Linked DNA regions of Homo sapiens: all the other regions are linked to region 3. Evidence: promoter capture Hi-C in 16 types of primary human blood cells and fetal thymus (Javierre and others, 2016). All regions are on one chromosome and are shown on one strand. The core of a region is centred on a gene start or on the middle of the fragment in contact, and the rest is flanking DNA. Distances in the headings are between cores, read along the strand shown. Region 1 has its middle 48 kb from the start of FAM76B. Region 2 has its middle 32 kb from the start of FAM76B. Region 3 holds the start of KDM4E (lysine demethylase 4E).

Evidence for each region. The method cuts DNA at HindIII sites, captures the fragments that hold promoters and counts their contacts. A CHiCAGO score of 5 or more calls a contact.
Region 1: a contact is called between a fragment that was not itself captured here and the fragment with the promoter of KDM4E in region 3, in 6 of 17 cell types (M2 macrophages, neutrophils, monocytes and 3 more). The highest score is 6.8, in M2 macrophages.
Region 2: a contact is called between a fragment that was not itself captured here and the fragment with the promoter of KDM4E in region 3, in 4 of 17 cell types (M2 macrophages, total CD4 T cells, fetal thymus and 1 more). The highest score is 6.6, in M2 macrophages.

The regions. Positions count from the first base shown.
Region 1 is chr11:95,739,840-95,744,209 of GRCh38, forward strand. No RefSeq gene overlaps it. Among named protein-coding and RNA genes, the nearest start is that of FAM76B, 48 kb to the right of the region's middle. The HindIII fragment of the contact is 8,213 bases long and covers 1-4,370 here.
Region 2 is chr11:95,756,059-95,760,086 of GRCh38, forward strand. It overlaps the pseudogene FGFR3P2. Among named protein-coding and RNA genes, the nearest start is that of FAM76B, 32 kb to the right of the region's middle. The HindIII fragment of the contact is 3,289 bases long and covers 325-3,613 here.
Region 3 is chr11:95,023,090-95,026,997 of GRCh38, forward strand. KDM4E (lysine demethylase 4E) reads left to right here and starts at 2,169. Exons shown (of 1, transcript NM_001161630.1): 1 at 2,169-3,908. The coding sequence starts at 2,469. The HindIII fragment of the contact is 8,893 bases long and covers 481-3,908 here.

The DNA of each region.
Region 1 (4,370 bases), core at 295-2,794, 720 kb after region 3:
GTCAGTGTTCTAACTCTCCTCTGCACTATGTGCCTTTCACAGTCATCCTGGAGGAATTTCCAGTCCTTTGAAACTGGGGATTACAATGTATTTATTTCTGAATCCCCAATGATTGGCATAATATCAGATACCTGGAAGTCACACATTTAACAAATATTTGTTAAATGAAAAATCAAATAAGTGATAGTAGGCAGTTACCTTCAGCAAATACACTCACCATACATATGTACATACATAAAGGATGGGGTTCTTTTTTATATTTCTCAATCTGAACTGGGAGGTGAAGTCTCTCTTTGCTTGATTCTACCTGTGAGGGGAATCGTTCTGAAGTGCTGATACCTTAAGAGCACAACTGGCAGAATTGTGGAAAGCACCATAATCTACAGGTTTAAATCTTAGGTCTGTCTCTTAGTAGCTGTGTGACTTTGGGCAAGCTAGTTATTCTTTCTGTGTCTCAATGACCAAACTGTCAGATAGGAGTGATAATCAAGGTTGTCATGAGATAGGAATAAATTATATGCAGCTATGCATCACATAACAATGCTTCTGCCAACAACAGACTGCATATGCAATTATGGTCCCACAAGATTATAATGGAGCTGCCCTATACAGATATACCATTATTTTATCTCTTGCGCTGTATTTTTACTGTATTTTTTCTATGTTTAGGTATGTCTAGATACACAAATACTTACCATTATGTTACAATTGCCTACAGCATTCAGTTTAGCAGCATGCTGTACAGGTTTGTAGCCAAGCAGCAACAATAGGCTGGACCACCATATAGCCTAGATGTGCAGTAGGCTATTACTATCTAGGTTTGTGTAAGTACACTCTATGATATTCACATAATGATAAATGTGCCTAATAATCCATTTCTCAAAGGACATTTTCATCATTAAATGATGCATAACTATATATATAAAATATATATGTGTGTGCACACACACAAATATCTGTATGCAGCATGTGTCTTTATATATGACATATACTATATATATATATATATATATATATATATATATATGAAAGAAATGTGTAGTACACAATGAACACAATATAAGCCTGGGCTATTACTGTTGAAAGGTTGGGAGTAGAACACTAAGGAGTTTATGCACCCTTGCTCCCATGAAAATTGTTCTTTCTTTCTTTCTTTCTTTTTTTTTTTTTTTTTTTTTTGAGACAGAGCTTCGCCTTTGTTGCCCACGCTGGAGTGCAATGGCATGATCTCGGCTCACTGCAACCTCTGCCTCCCAGGTTCAAGCGATTCTCCTGCCTCAGCCTCCCAAGTAGCTGGGACTACAGGCATGCACCACCACACCCGGCTAACTTTTGTGTTTTTAGTAGAGATGGGGTTTCACCATGTTGCTCAGGCTGGTCTCGAACTCGCGACCTCAGGTGACCTGCCTGCCTCGGCCTCCCAAAGTACTGGGATTACAGGCATGAGCCACTGCACCCAGCCTAAATTGTTCTTTCTTAATGCTTTGTTCCCTTTTGGTATCTCTTAAAACTCACTTCTCACAATGTAAATGCAGCATGAGGAGCTAAAATCCTGACAAGGGATAGCATATATTTGTCTGGCCTTTCCCTCTACTCAGATTTCTCTGGGACCTATAGAAGTGTTGTCTGGTCAAGAATATTAGTTACCATATGACAGACTTTTGCACTTTTGCCTTCCCTTTTCTTCATCCTGGGGATATCTCATCACATCACCCACTGCTCAAAGGGCATGATAAATTCTAGCCAGGCAAAGCCCCCATCGCTGTACCAAAGGAGCTATATTCTCCTCCTAACCTAAATAGTGAATCAGTGTAACATAAACTTATATGACTAGTAAAATGGTTGCTGCTAGCTGACCAGCGGTCCTGTCAGGGAGTCATGCATTGTCGTGGTCTTTCAAATCAACTTAAGGTATGAATTATACACAATAAAGTGCACCTATTTCTTATATTTATATGTGAATGAGATTTGACAAATGTATAACCTCTATAACTACCACAGTCATCAATACATTTCCATCATCCCAAAAAGTTCCCTTGTCCCCTTGGTAGCAAATTATCGCCACCCTAGTCCCCAAGCAACCACTTATCTGTCACTTTAGTTGAGTTTTTGTCTTTGCTAAAATTTCGTACGTTTGCTTTTGTGTATTTTCTTTCATTCAGTTTATTTTTGAGTCATTTATGTGTTACATGTTTAAGTACTTTGCTCTTTTTTATTGCTAAGTAGTAATCCAGTGTGTGAATATACTATAATTTGTTTATTTATCAACCTAGTCATAGACATTTGAGTTGTTTGCTTTTTTTTTTTTTTTTTTGGCTGTTATGAATAAAGCTGCTATGAACATTCATGTAAAATTTTTTATGTGGACATATGCTCTCTTTCTCCTGTGTAGATTCCTAAACAGCATTGCTGGTCCTATGATAATTGTATTTTAACTTTATAAGAATATGCCAGACTGTTTTCCAAAGTGTTCTATCATTTTATATTCTCATAACTAATTTATGAGTTACAGTAGCTCCACATTTTGTAAATACTTCGTATTGTCAATCTCTTTAATTTTAGTAATTCTAGTGAATCCGTGATTGTATCTCATTGTGGTTTTTTTTTTTTTTTTTTTTTTGAGACGGAGTCTTGCTCTGTCGCCCAGGCTGGAGTGCAGTGGCGCGATCTTGGCTCACTGCAAGCTCCGCCTCCTGAATTCACGCCGTTCTCCCACCTCAGCCTCCCGAGTAGCTGGGACTACAGGCGCCCGCTACCATGCCCAGCTAATTTTTTTGTATTTTTAGTAGAGACGGGGTTTCACCGTGTTAGCCAGTATGTTCTCGATCTCCTGACCTCGTGATCCGCCCGCCTCGGCCTCCCAAAGTGCTGGGATTACAGGCGTGAGCCACCGCGCCAGGCCCTCATTGTGTTTTAATTTGCACTCCCTGATGATTAGTGATGTTCAGCATCTTTTCATGTGCTTATTGGCCATTTGCATATCTTCTTTCATGGTGAATCTGTTGAAATCTTTTGCCCATTTTCTACTTGGGATTTTTTTATCTTCTCATTGAATCCTAAGGTTCTTTTATGTTTATATACAAATCCTTTGTCAGATATACTTTGAAAATATTTTCTCCCAGTTTGTATTTGCCTTTCCATTCTCTTAATGGTCTTATGAGCAGAATATTTTAATTATGATAACGTTCTATTTTTCCATTTTTTCTTCATATTCCATGCTTTCTCTGTGCCTAAAACATCCATGCCAACGCAAAGTCACAAATATTTTCTGATATTTTTCTTCAAAAAATGTCATAAGTTTAGCATTATGTTTAGGCCTATAAGCCATGTCAAATTACTATGTAAAAAGAGTATGAAGTAAGGTGTGTGTGGTGTTCATTTTTTTTAATGGATAACCCAGTTGTTCTAGCATCATTTGTGGAAAATACTGCGTGAAAGGCAATTCTACACAAAAGCACACACACACCATCTTCTGTTCATTGATTTATTTGTCTATCCTTACATGAATATTACATTGTGTTTATTATTTTAGCTTTTATAAATTTTAAAAGAAGGTAGTATAAATCCTCCAATATTGTTCTTGTTTTTCAAAATTGTTTTCGTCATTCTACGTTCTTTGCATTTCCATATAAATTTTTGAATCAATTGACAATTCTAAAAAAAAAAAATCATGCTGCAACTGAGGTAAAACTCTACATCAAGTTAGCGGGAATTGACATCTTAGCAATATGGAGTGATCCAATCAGTGAACATGGTATATCTTACCATTTATTTGGCATTCTTTCATTTCTCTAAGCAAGGTTTTGTAGTTTTAAGGTTTTACAGTGTACATTCTTAATACCTTTTGTTAAATTTATCTCTAATTATTTTATCTTTTATGCTAGGCTAAATGCAATCACTTTTATTGCATTTTCAGTGATTCATTGCTAGTACATACAAATACATTTTTTTTGTCTATTGCTTTGTATCCTGTGACCTTGATAAATCCCTTTGTTAATTCTAGTAGCTGTCTTTTAAATTCCTTAGTTTTGTGGATACATGATCATGTCATATGTGAATACAGACAGCTTCACTTCTTCCTTTCTAATTTGTATACCTTTTATTCTTTGCGTTGGTTTTTGCATGAATTAGAACCGTGGTCTAGGACCCTTGTAATGTTAAATAGAAGTGGTAAAAACAGACATACTTGTTATACTCTCAGCCTTAAAATTGAATCTTTTATCATTAAGCAGGATGTTAGCTGTGTTTTTTTGTTTGTTTGTTTTTTGTAGATGCCCTTTATCAGGTTGAAAAGATTCCTTCTATCCCTAATGTGCTGAGATATTTTACCATGAATATGTGTTGTATTTTGTCTAATGCCTTTTCTGCAT
Region 2 (4,028 bases), core at 719-3,218, 730 kb after region 3:
TGTCCTTTCCTATTTAGTCCTACATTTGTTTGTTTGTTTGTTTTCCCCCAGCATTCAGAGCTGTTTATTTCCATCTTCATACTACACCAAAGAATTTCAAACAGTGTTAGGTAGACTAGCTGGAAGTTGGAGCTTAGAACATCCTACATCCCTGAAAAGTTCAGTGATGCAGTCCCAGGTACACAGCTGCCCATCTGCCACCCAAGAATTGTTGTGAAGAAACCAGAGTCTCTGCAGATGATGGGACAGAAGCCTGTGGTGCAGCAGTGGTCACCTAGCAGGTCCTTGGCTGGGACACCTTCTATTATAAAGTATATCAGTTTAAGCTTGACAGAATGAAACATGATATATTTTACAAGTAATGAATATAGGCCAATAGAAAACTCATAGATACAAATATAACTAATTCTACAACTTCCATAATGGCCCGTCCTAATTCTTTAATTTGTCATCTATTATAATTCATAGACTTTGTCACATAATTTTAGAGTGGGTCTTAAGATAAAATCATGTTTGTTAAATATGTGAGGTTGATGATAAGCTCACCAAGGAGTTCTTTACTCAGTATGGGAATTCAGAGAGCACAAAGTTACAGAGGGAGAAGCAGGATTATGAGGGACAGAAGTCATAGGGGTGATTCCCATTTTTATTGACTGACACACATATTCTTACTTTAGGAAAAACTGCATCTAATTTTAGACTGCAGTTCATGGCAGATGCTGCGAACCAGCAGCAAGTTCATGTCCAGAATTGCTCACTGCAGAGGATTTTGTCTGCTGGCTGGTACCATAGTTTCTCTTTCATAGGCTATTCCAAAACTTCTATAATGCTGGTAGATTTCAGTGAAGTGTCACCCCAGCCCACCCACCCCTTGCACTTAGCCAGCAGTGGCACCCACCTTGAGCATGGTGAGGTATGTTATGCCAGCAGGGTCCACATTGCTGCTGTTCACCTCCAAGTGCTAAGCTGCTGTACACCTTGCAGTGGGACTCCACTTCACTGCCCAGCACCACTGTCTGATTGGGCAGCAGCCATGCATGCGGAATTAGTCAGTGAGGAGAGCACTCTGTGGGGGCAGATGGGGACTGGAAGGCTGCCCGTCTGCCTGCCCCTCTCTGTAGCCCTCATCCAGCATGTCCAGTGTGTATATCTGCAGGATGCTGCCAAACTTATTCTCCACCATACTCTCCATGACCAGGCTCCATTGCTGGTGCTGCAACTGGATACACTGATATGAGGCTCTCCATGGAACTCCTTGTGGGTCCTCAGCCAGGAAATGGAGAGAGTAGAATTGCTGGTGGTGGGACATCAGAAGCAAACAGGTTGGGTGGCCAGCATGGCCAGCAGCTTCTTGTCCATCCACTGAGCCCAAGTCCAATAGAGGGCCTCTGGCACGTGAAGGCCATATAGAGGTGAGGAACAGAAGCCTATCTGATCTGACTCTCCTTCCAAGGCTCCCCCTGTCCACTTCCCACCTCAGTTTATCCTCCTGTGTAGGGAGAGTGTTGCCTTTCAAGTACATCTGCCTGGGGTGGAAAAGGCTCCAAGGAACCTCAACACCATGTTCCCGACACCCTTGGCATTCTCAAACATGGGCCATGTGTTCCCTTCCCTCTGAGCTTCCTCCAAGTGGCTTCTCCTGCTAAGAGGTCCAGGGTGCCCCACTGTGGGGGGCCTTCAGGACATACCAGCATCTCCCAGGGGAGCCCCCATACATTTGCTTTTATAGAAAGTAATAATGGCCCATTTACTGAACACTTGCCATGTGCTAAGCCATGAGATCAGCATTTTGCATGCCTTATTTAAACTTGACATCCGTCATGTGATATACCTCCATTTTAGCAATGAGGAAACTGAAGCTCAGAGGGCTTGAGTAACTTACCCAGTGTTATACAGCCAGACAGTGGCCAAGTCTGAGTTTGAACCAGGATCTAACTTGAAGTATCAGTTCTTAGCTATCACACTTTGTGGCCTCTGTATGCAACACTATCCTAAGTCTCATGTTAGGTATTTGTCCTTGAGTTAAGGAAAAGTTAAATTCTTTTCTGCAACCACCACTTAAAAATGCCAGAAAGTGTTTTCTGAGTTTGGTTTTTTGTTTGTTTGTTTGTTTTGGCGGTTGTGGGGCGAGTTTTTCTTTTTTTCGTCAAAAACTGGTTTAATTTTTTTTTTTGACAGGTCTTGCTCTGCCACCCAGGTTGGAGTGCAATTGTGCCATCTTGGCTCATTGGAGCCTCAACCACTTGGGCTCAAGCAATCCTCCCACCTCACCCTCCCAAGTTGCTGGGACCACAGGCGTGCACCACCACAGCTGGCTAATTTTTTTTTTTTTTTGTATTTTTTGTAGAGACGCAGTTTCACCATATTGCACAGGCTGGTCTCAAACTCCTGGGCTCAAGCGATCCTCTTGCCTCAGCCTCCCAAAGTGCTGGGATTATAGGTGTGAGCCACCACACCCGGCAGGTCTATGTTTTTTTACTTTTAACTAAACTTTAGTGATCAGAAGAAATGATCTTCCTGAAATTACTCTTTTCTCTGCAATTCAGGATGCATCAGTTGTTATTATACTTTTATTTTGTATATCCATGCTAAAGTTTATTATTATTGTATACTTATTTTTATTTACATAAGGTGAAGGTTTTTTTCTAAAACTAAAAAGCTCTTGAGCAGTACTTTTGAAAAATGCACACCCATCTAACTTTTACATGTGTATATGATTATATTCTTGCTAAATTCTTTTTTTTTTTTTTTTTTTTTTTTGAGAGACAGAGTCTTGCTCTGTTGCCCAGGCTGGAGTGCAGTGGCTCCATCTCTGCTCACTGCAACCTCTGCCTCCCGGGTTCAAGCTATTCTCCTGCCTCAGCTTCCCAAGTAGCTGGGGTTACAGGTGCCCGACACCACGCCCAGCTAATTTTTGTATTTTTTTAGTAGAGACAGGGTTTCACTATATTTTAGCCAGGCTGTCTCGAGCCCTTGACCTCAGGTGATCCACCCACCTCGGCCTCCCAAAGTGCTGGGATTACAGACGTGAGCCTCCGCACCCGGCCTCTTGCTAGATTCTTACAGCACCATCTTCAGTCTTTGTTTTTGTCTTCCGTTTCTCTCCAGACACTCTACATTACTTGCCGCTTCTCCCTTCCTGTCGTTATTTTTCAATCATGTTTCCTCTTCCTGATTTTTGCTGGTTTGATCAAACAGTTTCCAGTCTAGTTTTCCACTGATATTTTGAATATTCTAGCCCCTTTTTATTCCATTAATGATTGCCTGTCCTTTCCTGCCCTCATGATCACATTCATGTTTTCTTATTTCGTTTGAAGAAATCATACCATCTATTTCTCCCACCTCAGGGGTTCTAGTCTTCTATTTTCCCCTCATCCCAGTCAGTTTAAACCTTTAAAATATGGTTTTGTGGGGGACTGCTTTCCCCCCACCACAAAACTTCATGGACGGAATAATCTAGTCCACTCTCTTACCTCTAACAGATTTGGCTGAGATCGTTAAAAACTATTGATATGTCCCTCCTTTTTGAAGACTCCATATTTAACACTTCCTGATCTTAAACAATCCTAGGCTGATACTCACTGTTTAGATTTAAAGATAAATATATCTTACAAGCTTTGTTGTTCACCACTTTTCCTGTCCACTACATCTCTACAATGAAGTTTTCTTTTCTAGTTCCCTTGCTTGGTGTCCTTTCTAGATTACTTTCTTCATATAGACAACTTGGGTGATATATTCTCTGATTATACCCATATCAAAAATTCACGTTCTTTTATCTTGTCAGGAGAATGATACTTCGCTGGTATAGAATTCTGAGGTGGCAGGTCTTTTTCTCTAAGTAGTTTGTGGGATGTTAGTTCACTGCCACTTCTGGTGTTACAGATGAGAAGTCTGATTCCTTTTCCTTTACAGGAAACCGATTTTTTCTGCCTGGAAGCTTATCAGATTTTTATCATAAGCTTTAGAGTTAAAAAAAAAATCGATTCTATTAGAAACATTGAGTCCATCTAATATGCAGACAAGCCTTT
Region 3 (3,908 bases), core at 919-3,418:
CAGATCCTGAACTAACCTGTAAGACTTGTCCGGTTTTTGGACAGGTAAAATGGGGGAATTGTAAGGAGAGTTTATAGGCTTTAAAAGGCCATGCTGTAACAGTCGAGTGATAACAGGCTTTAATCCTTTTAAAGCCTGCTGCGGGATGGGATATTGGCATTGAGCGGGGTAAGGGTGATTAGGTTTTAATGAGATGGTAAGGGGTGCATGATCGGTTGACAAGGAGGCAGTAGAGGTATCCCATACTTGTGGGTTAAGGTGGGGAGATACAAGGGGAGGATGCGAAGGAGGCTTTGAACTGAGGGAAAAGGCAGCAATGAGGTGTGGCTGTAGCCCAGGAATAGTGAAGGAAGCAGATAATTTAGTTAAAATGTCTCGACCTAATAAGGGAGCTGGGCAGGTGGGGATAACTAAAAATGAGTGCATTAAAGAATGTTGTCCAAGTTGGCACCAGAGTTGGGGAGTTTTAAGAGGTTTAGAAGCTTGGCTGTCAATACCCACAACAGTTATGGAGGCAAGGGAAACAGGATTGTCAGATGAGTCTGTAGAAAAGAAGGATTCAAAGGACTCAGAGCTTGGGGTGGAGACTGAAGGAACAGACAGGAGAGAAAGAAAAAAGATTTGGGACAAGTCTCTTTGGGAGCAGAGACTAGGGAGGGACCAATGTATAAAAGAATGCCTGGATGTCGGGCACCTCAGACCATTTTTGCCCATTTTTCGACAAAAATTGTCTAGGTCTCGTAGGATGGAGAAATCAAAAGTGCCATTTTCTGGCCATTTAGAACCATTGTCGAGTTTGTACTGGGGCCAGGTGGTGTTGCAGAAGAAAATAAGATGCTTAGATTTTGGGTCAGGTGAGAGTTGAAGAGGTTTTAAGTTCTTGAGAACACAGGCTAAGGGAGAAGAAGGAGGAATGGAGGGTGGAAGGTTGCCCATAGTGAAGGAGGCAAGTTTAAAAAATAAGGGTAGAGACACAGAGAAGGGGGGTGGGGAGCAGCCCTGAGCTGCAACGTAGGGGAGCAGCCAAAGCAGCTGTCCCCACAGTTGATTTGCCCATCAAGGGAATGTGGGTGAATGATAATGTGGGTGAATGCGGAGATCAGACACCAATGGAACATGGGTGAATAATCAGAGACACATCCCCACAATGATTAAACACCAAGGGAAGGCTGCCTTCCCGAGTCCGTGACCAGCGCCGGAGTTTTGGGTCCAGGGATAAAATGTGTCTCCTTTGTCTCTACCAGAAAATAAAAGGAATTGAAATTAAGAGAAGAAAGAGATTGAAGGGTGGCGCCAAGATTGAAAGAAGAAAGAGGTTGAGGGATAGTGAGAGAGGTTGGAGAAGACAGTAAAAAGAGCTGCTTGCCTGATTTAAAATCAGTGAGATGTTCCTTGGGCTGGTTGGTCTGAGGACTGGAGGTCGTATGTGGATCTTTTCACAGAGTGAGGGTGAGGACAGGGGACTGGTCTCCCGAAGGAGTCCCGCTGACCCAGGTCTTCGGCACGAAATGTCTCACGTGTCCGTGTCAAGAGACCCCCAAAGAGGCTTTGTGTGAGCAACAAGGCTGTTTATTTCTCCTGGGTGCAGGCGGGCTAAGTCCAAAAAGAGAGTCAGCAAAGGGTGGTGGGATTATCATTAGTTCTTACAGGTTTTGGGATAGGTGGTGGAGTTAAGAGCAATGTTTTGGGGGCAGGGGGTGGATCTCACAAAGTACATTCTCGAGGGTGGGGGGAATTACAAAGAAACTTCTTAAGGGTGGGGGAGATTATAAAGAAACTTCGTAAGGGTGGGGGAGATTACAAAGTACATTGATCAGTTAGGGTGGGGCAGAAACAAATCACAATGGTGGAATGTCATCAGTTAAGGCTATTTTCACTTCTTTTGTGGATCTTCAGTTGCTTCAGGCCATCTGGATGTGTATGTGCAGGTCACTGGGGATATGATGGCTTAGCTTGGGCTCAGAGGCCTGACAATGTTTACATATCCTGATGTTAGCATATGTTTTAGCTTAGCTTAATGCTAGCTGAATATTTCTTTTGTCTGGTTATATACTTATTTAAAAAATATGAATATTCTGTATCTTTTGTTGTTGTTGTTTAGGTGTATTGTTTCGACTTCCTAGAAGAGACCCCCAGGTACAGTGGGACACTAGCTGCTACTAGTGCACCCAAGCCTGAGAATCAGGAGAAGCCTCACAGTGACACCCCCAACTGAGGAAACTCACAGAGCTGGGACATACTCTACTTCTTCAGAAAAAAGTATACTGACTAGAGTGGAGTCCCCCTGGGGAGTCAGAAAGCCTGTGAAAGATCTCACTTGTTCAAAAGTCCAAGTGTGAATTACTGTCTCACAGATAAACCAAAGTATTTTGAAAAACAAAGGGGAGAAAAGAAATTACTCCCCAGAACTCTCAGGCATCTAGAGGACACCCAAGAACGTGGGAGTCAGCTGCTTCTTGTGTGCAGCCATGAAGTCTGTGCACTCCAGTCCCCAGAACACGAGTCATACCATCATGACGTTTTACCCAACCATGGAAGAATTTGCAGATTTCAACACATATGTTGCTTACATGGAGTCCCAAGGCGCACATCAAGCTGGCCTTGCCAAGGTAATTCCACCCAAGGAATGGAAAGCCAGACAGATGTATGATGATATCGAAGACATCTTAATAGCCACTCCCCTCCAGCAGGTGACCTCTGGGCAGGGAGGTGTGTTTACTCAATACCATAAAAAGAAGAAAGCCATGAGGGTGGGGCAGTATCGCCGCTTGGCAAACAGTAAAAAATATCAGACTCCGCCACACCAGAATTTTGCAGATTTGGAGCAACGATACTGGAAGAGCCACCCCGGTAATCCACCAATTTATGGTGCTGATATCAGCGGCTCCTTATTTGAAGAAAGCACTAAACAATGGAACCTAGGACACCTGGGAACAATTCTGGACCTGTTGGAGCAGGAATGTGGGGTTGTCATCGAGGGTGTCAACACACCCTACCTGTACTTTGGCATGTGGAAGACCACGTTTGCCTGGCACACAGAGGACATGGACCTTTACAGCATCAACTACCTGCACTTTGGGGAGCCCAAAACTTGGTACGTGGTGCCCCCAGAACATGGTCAGCACCTGGAACGCCTGGCCAGGGAGCTCTTCCCAGACATTTCTCGGGGCTGTGAGGCCTTCCTGCGGCACAAAGTGGCCCTCATCTCGCCTACAGTTCTCAAGGAAAATGGGATTCCCTTCAATTGCATGACTCAGGAGGCTGGGGAGTTCATGGTGACCTTTCCCTATGGCTACCATGCTGGCTTCAATCACGGCTTCAACTGCGCAGAAGCCATTAATTTTGCCACTCCACGATGGATTGATTATGGCAAAATGGCCTCTCAGTGTAGCTGTGGGGAGTCGACAGTGACCTTTTCCATGGACCCCTTTGTGCGCATTGTGCAACCCGAGAGTTATGAGCTCTGGAAACACAGGCAAGACTTGGCCATTGTGGAACACACAGAGCCCAGGGTTGCAGAAAGCCAAGAGCTGAGCAACTGGAGAGATGATATAGTACTTAGAAGAGCTGCTCTGGGCCTGAGGCTTCTCCCAAACCTCACAGCCCAGTGTCCCACACAGCCTGTGTCCTCAGGGCACTGTTACAACCCAAAAGGCTGTGGCACTGATGCTGTGCCTGGATCCGCATTCCAAAGCTCTGCATATCATACCCAGACCCAGTCACTTACCCTGGGGATGTCAGCCAGGGTTCTTCTCCCTTCCACTGGAAGCTGGGGTTCTGGTCGTGGTCGTGGTCGTGGTCAAGGTCAAGGTCGAGGTTGCAGTCGTGGTCGTGGTCATGGTTGTTGTACTCGAGAACTGGGGACTGAGGAGCCAACTGTTCAGCCTGCATCCAAGAGGCGCCTTTTA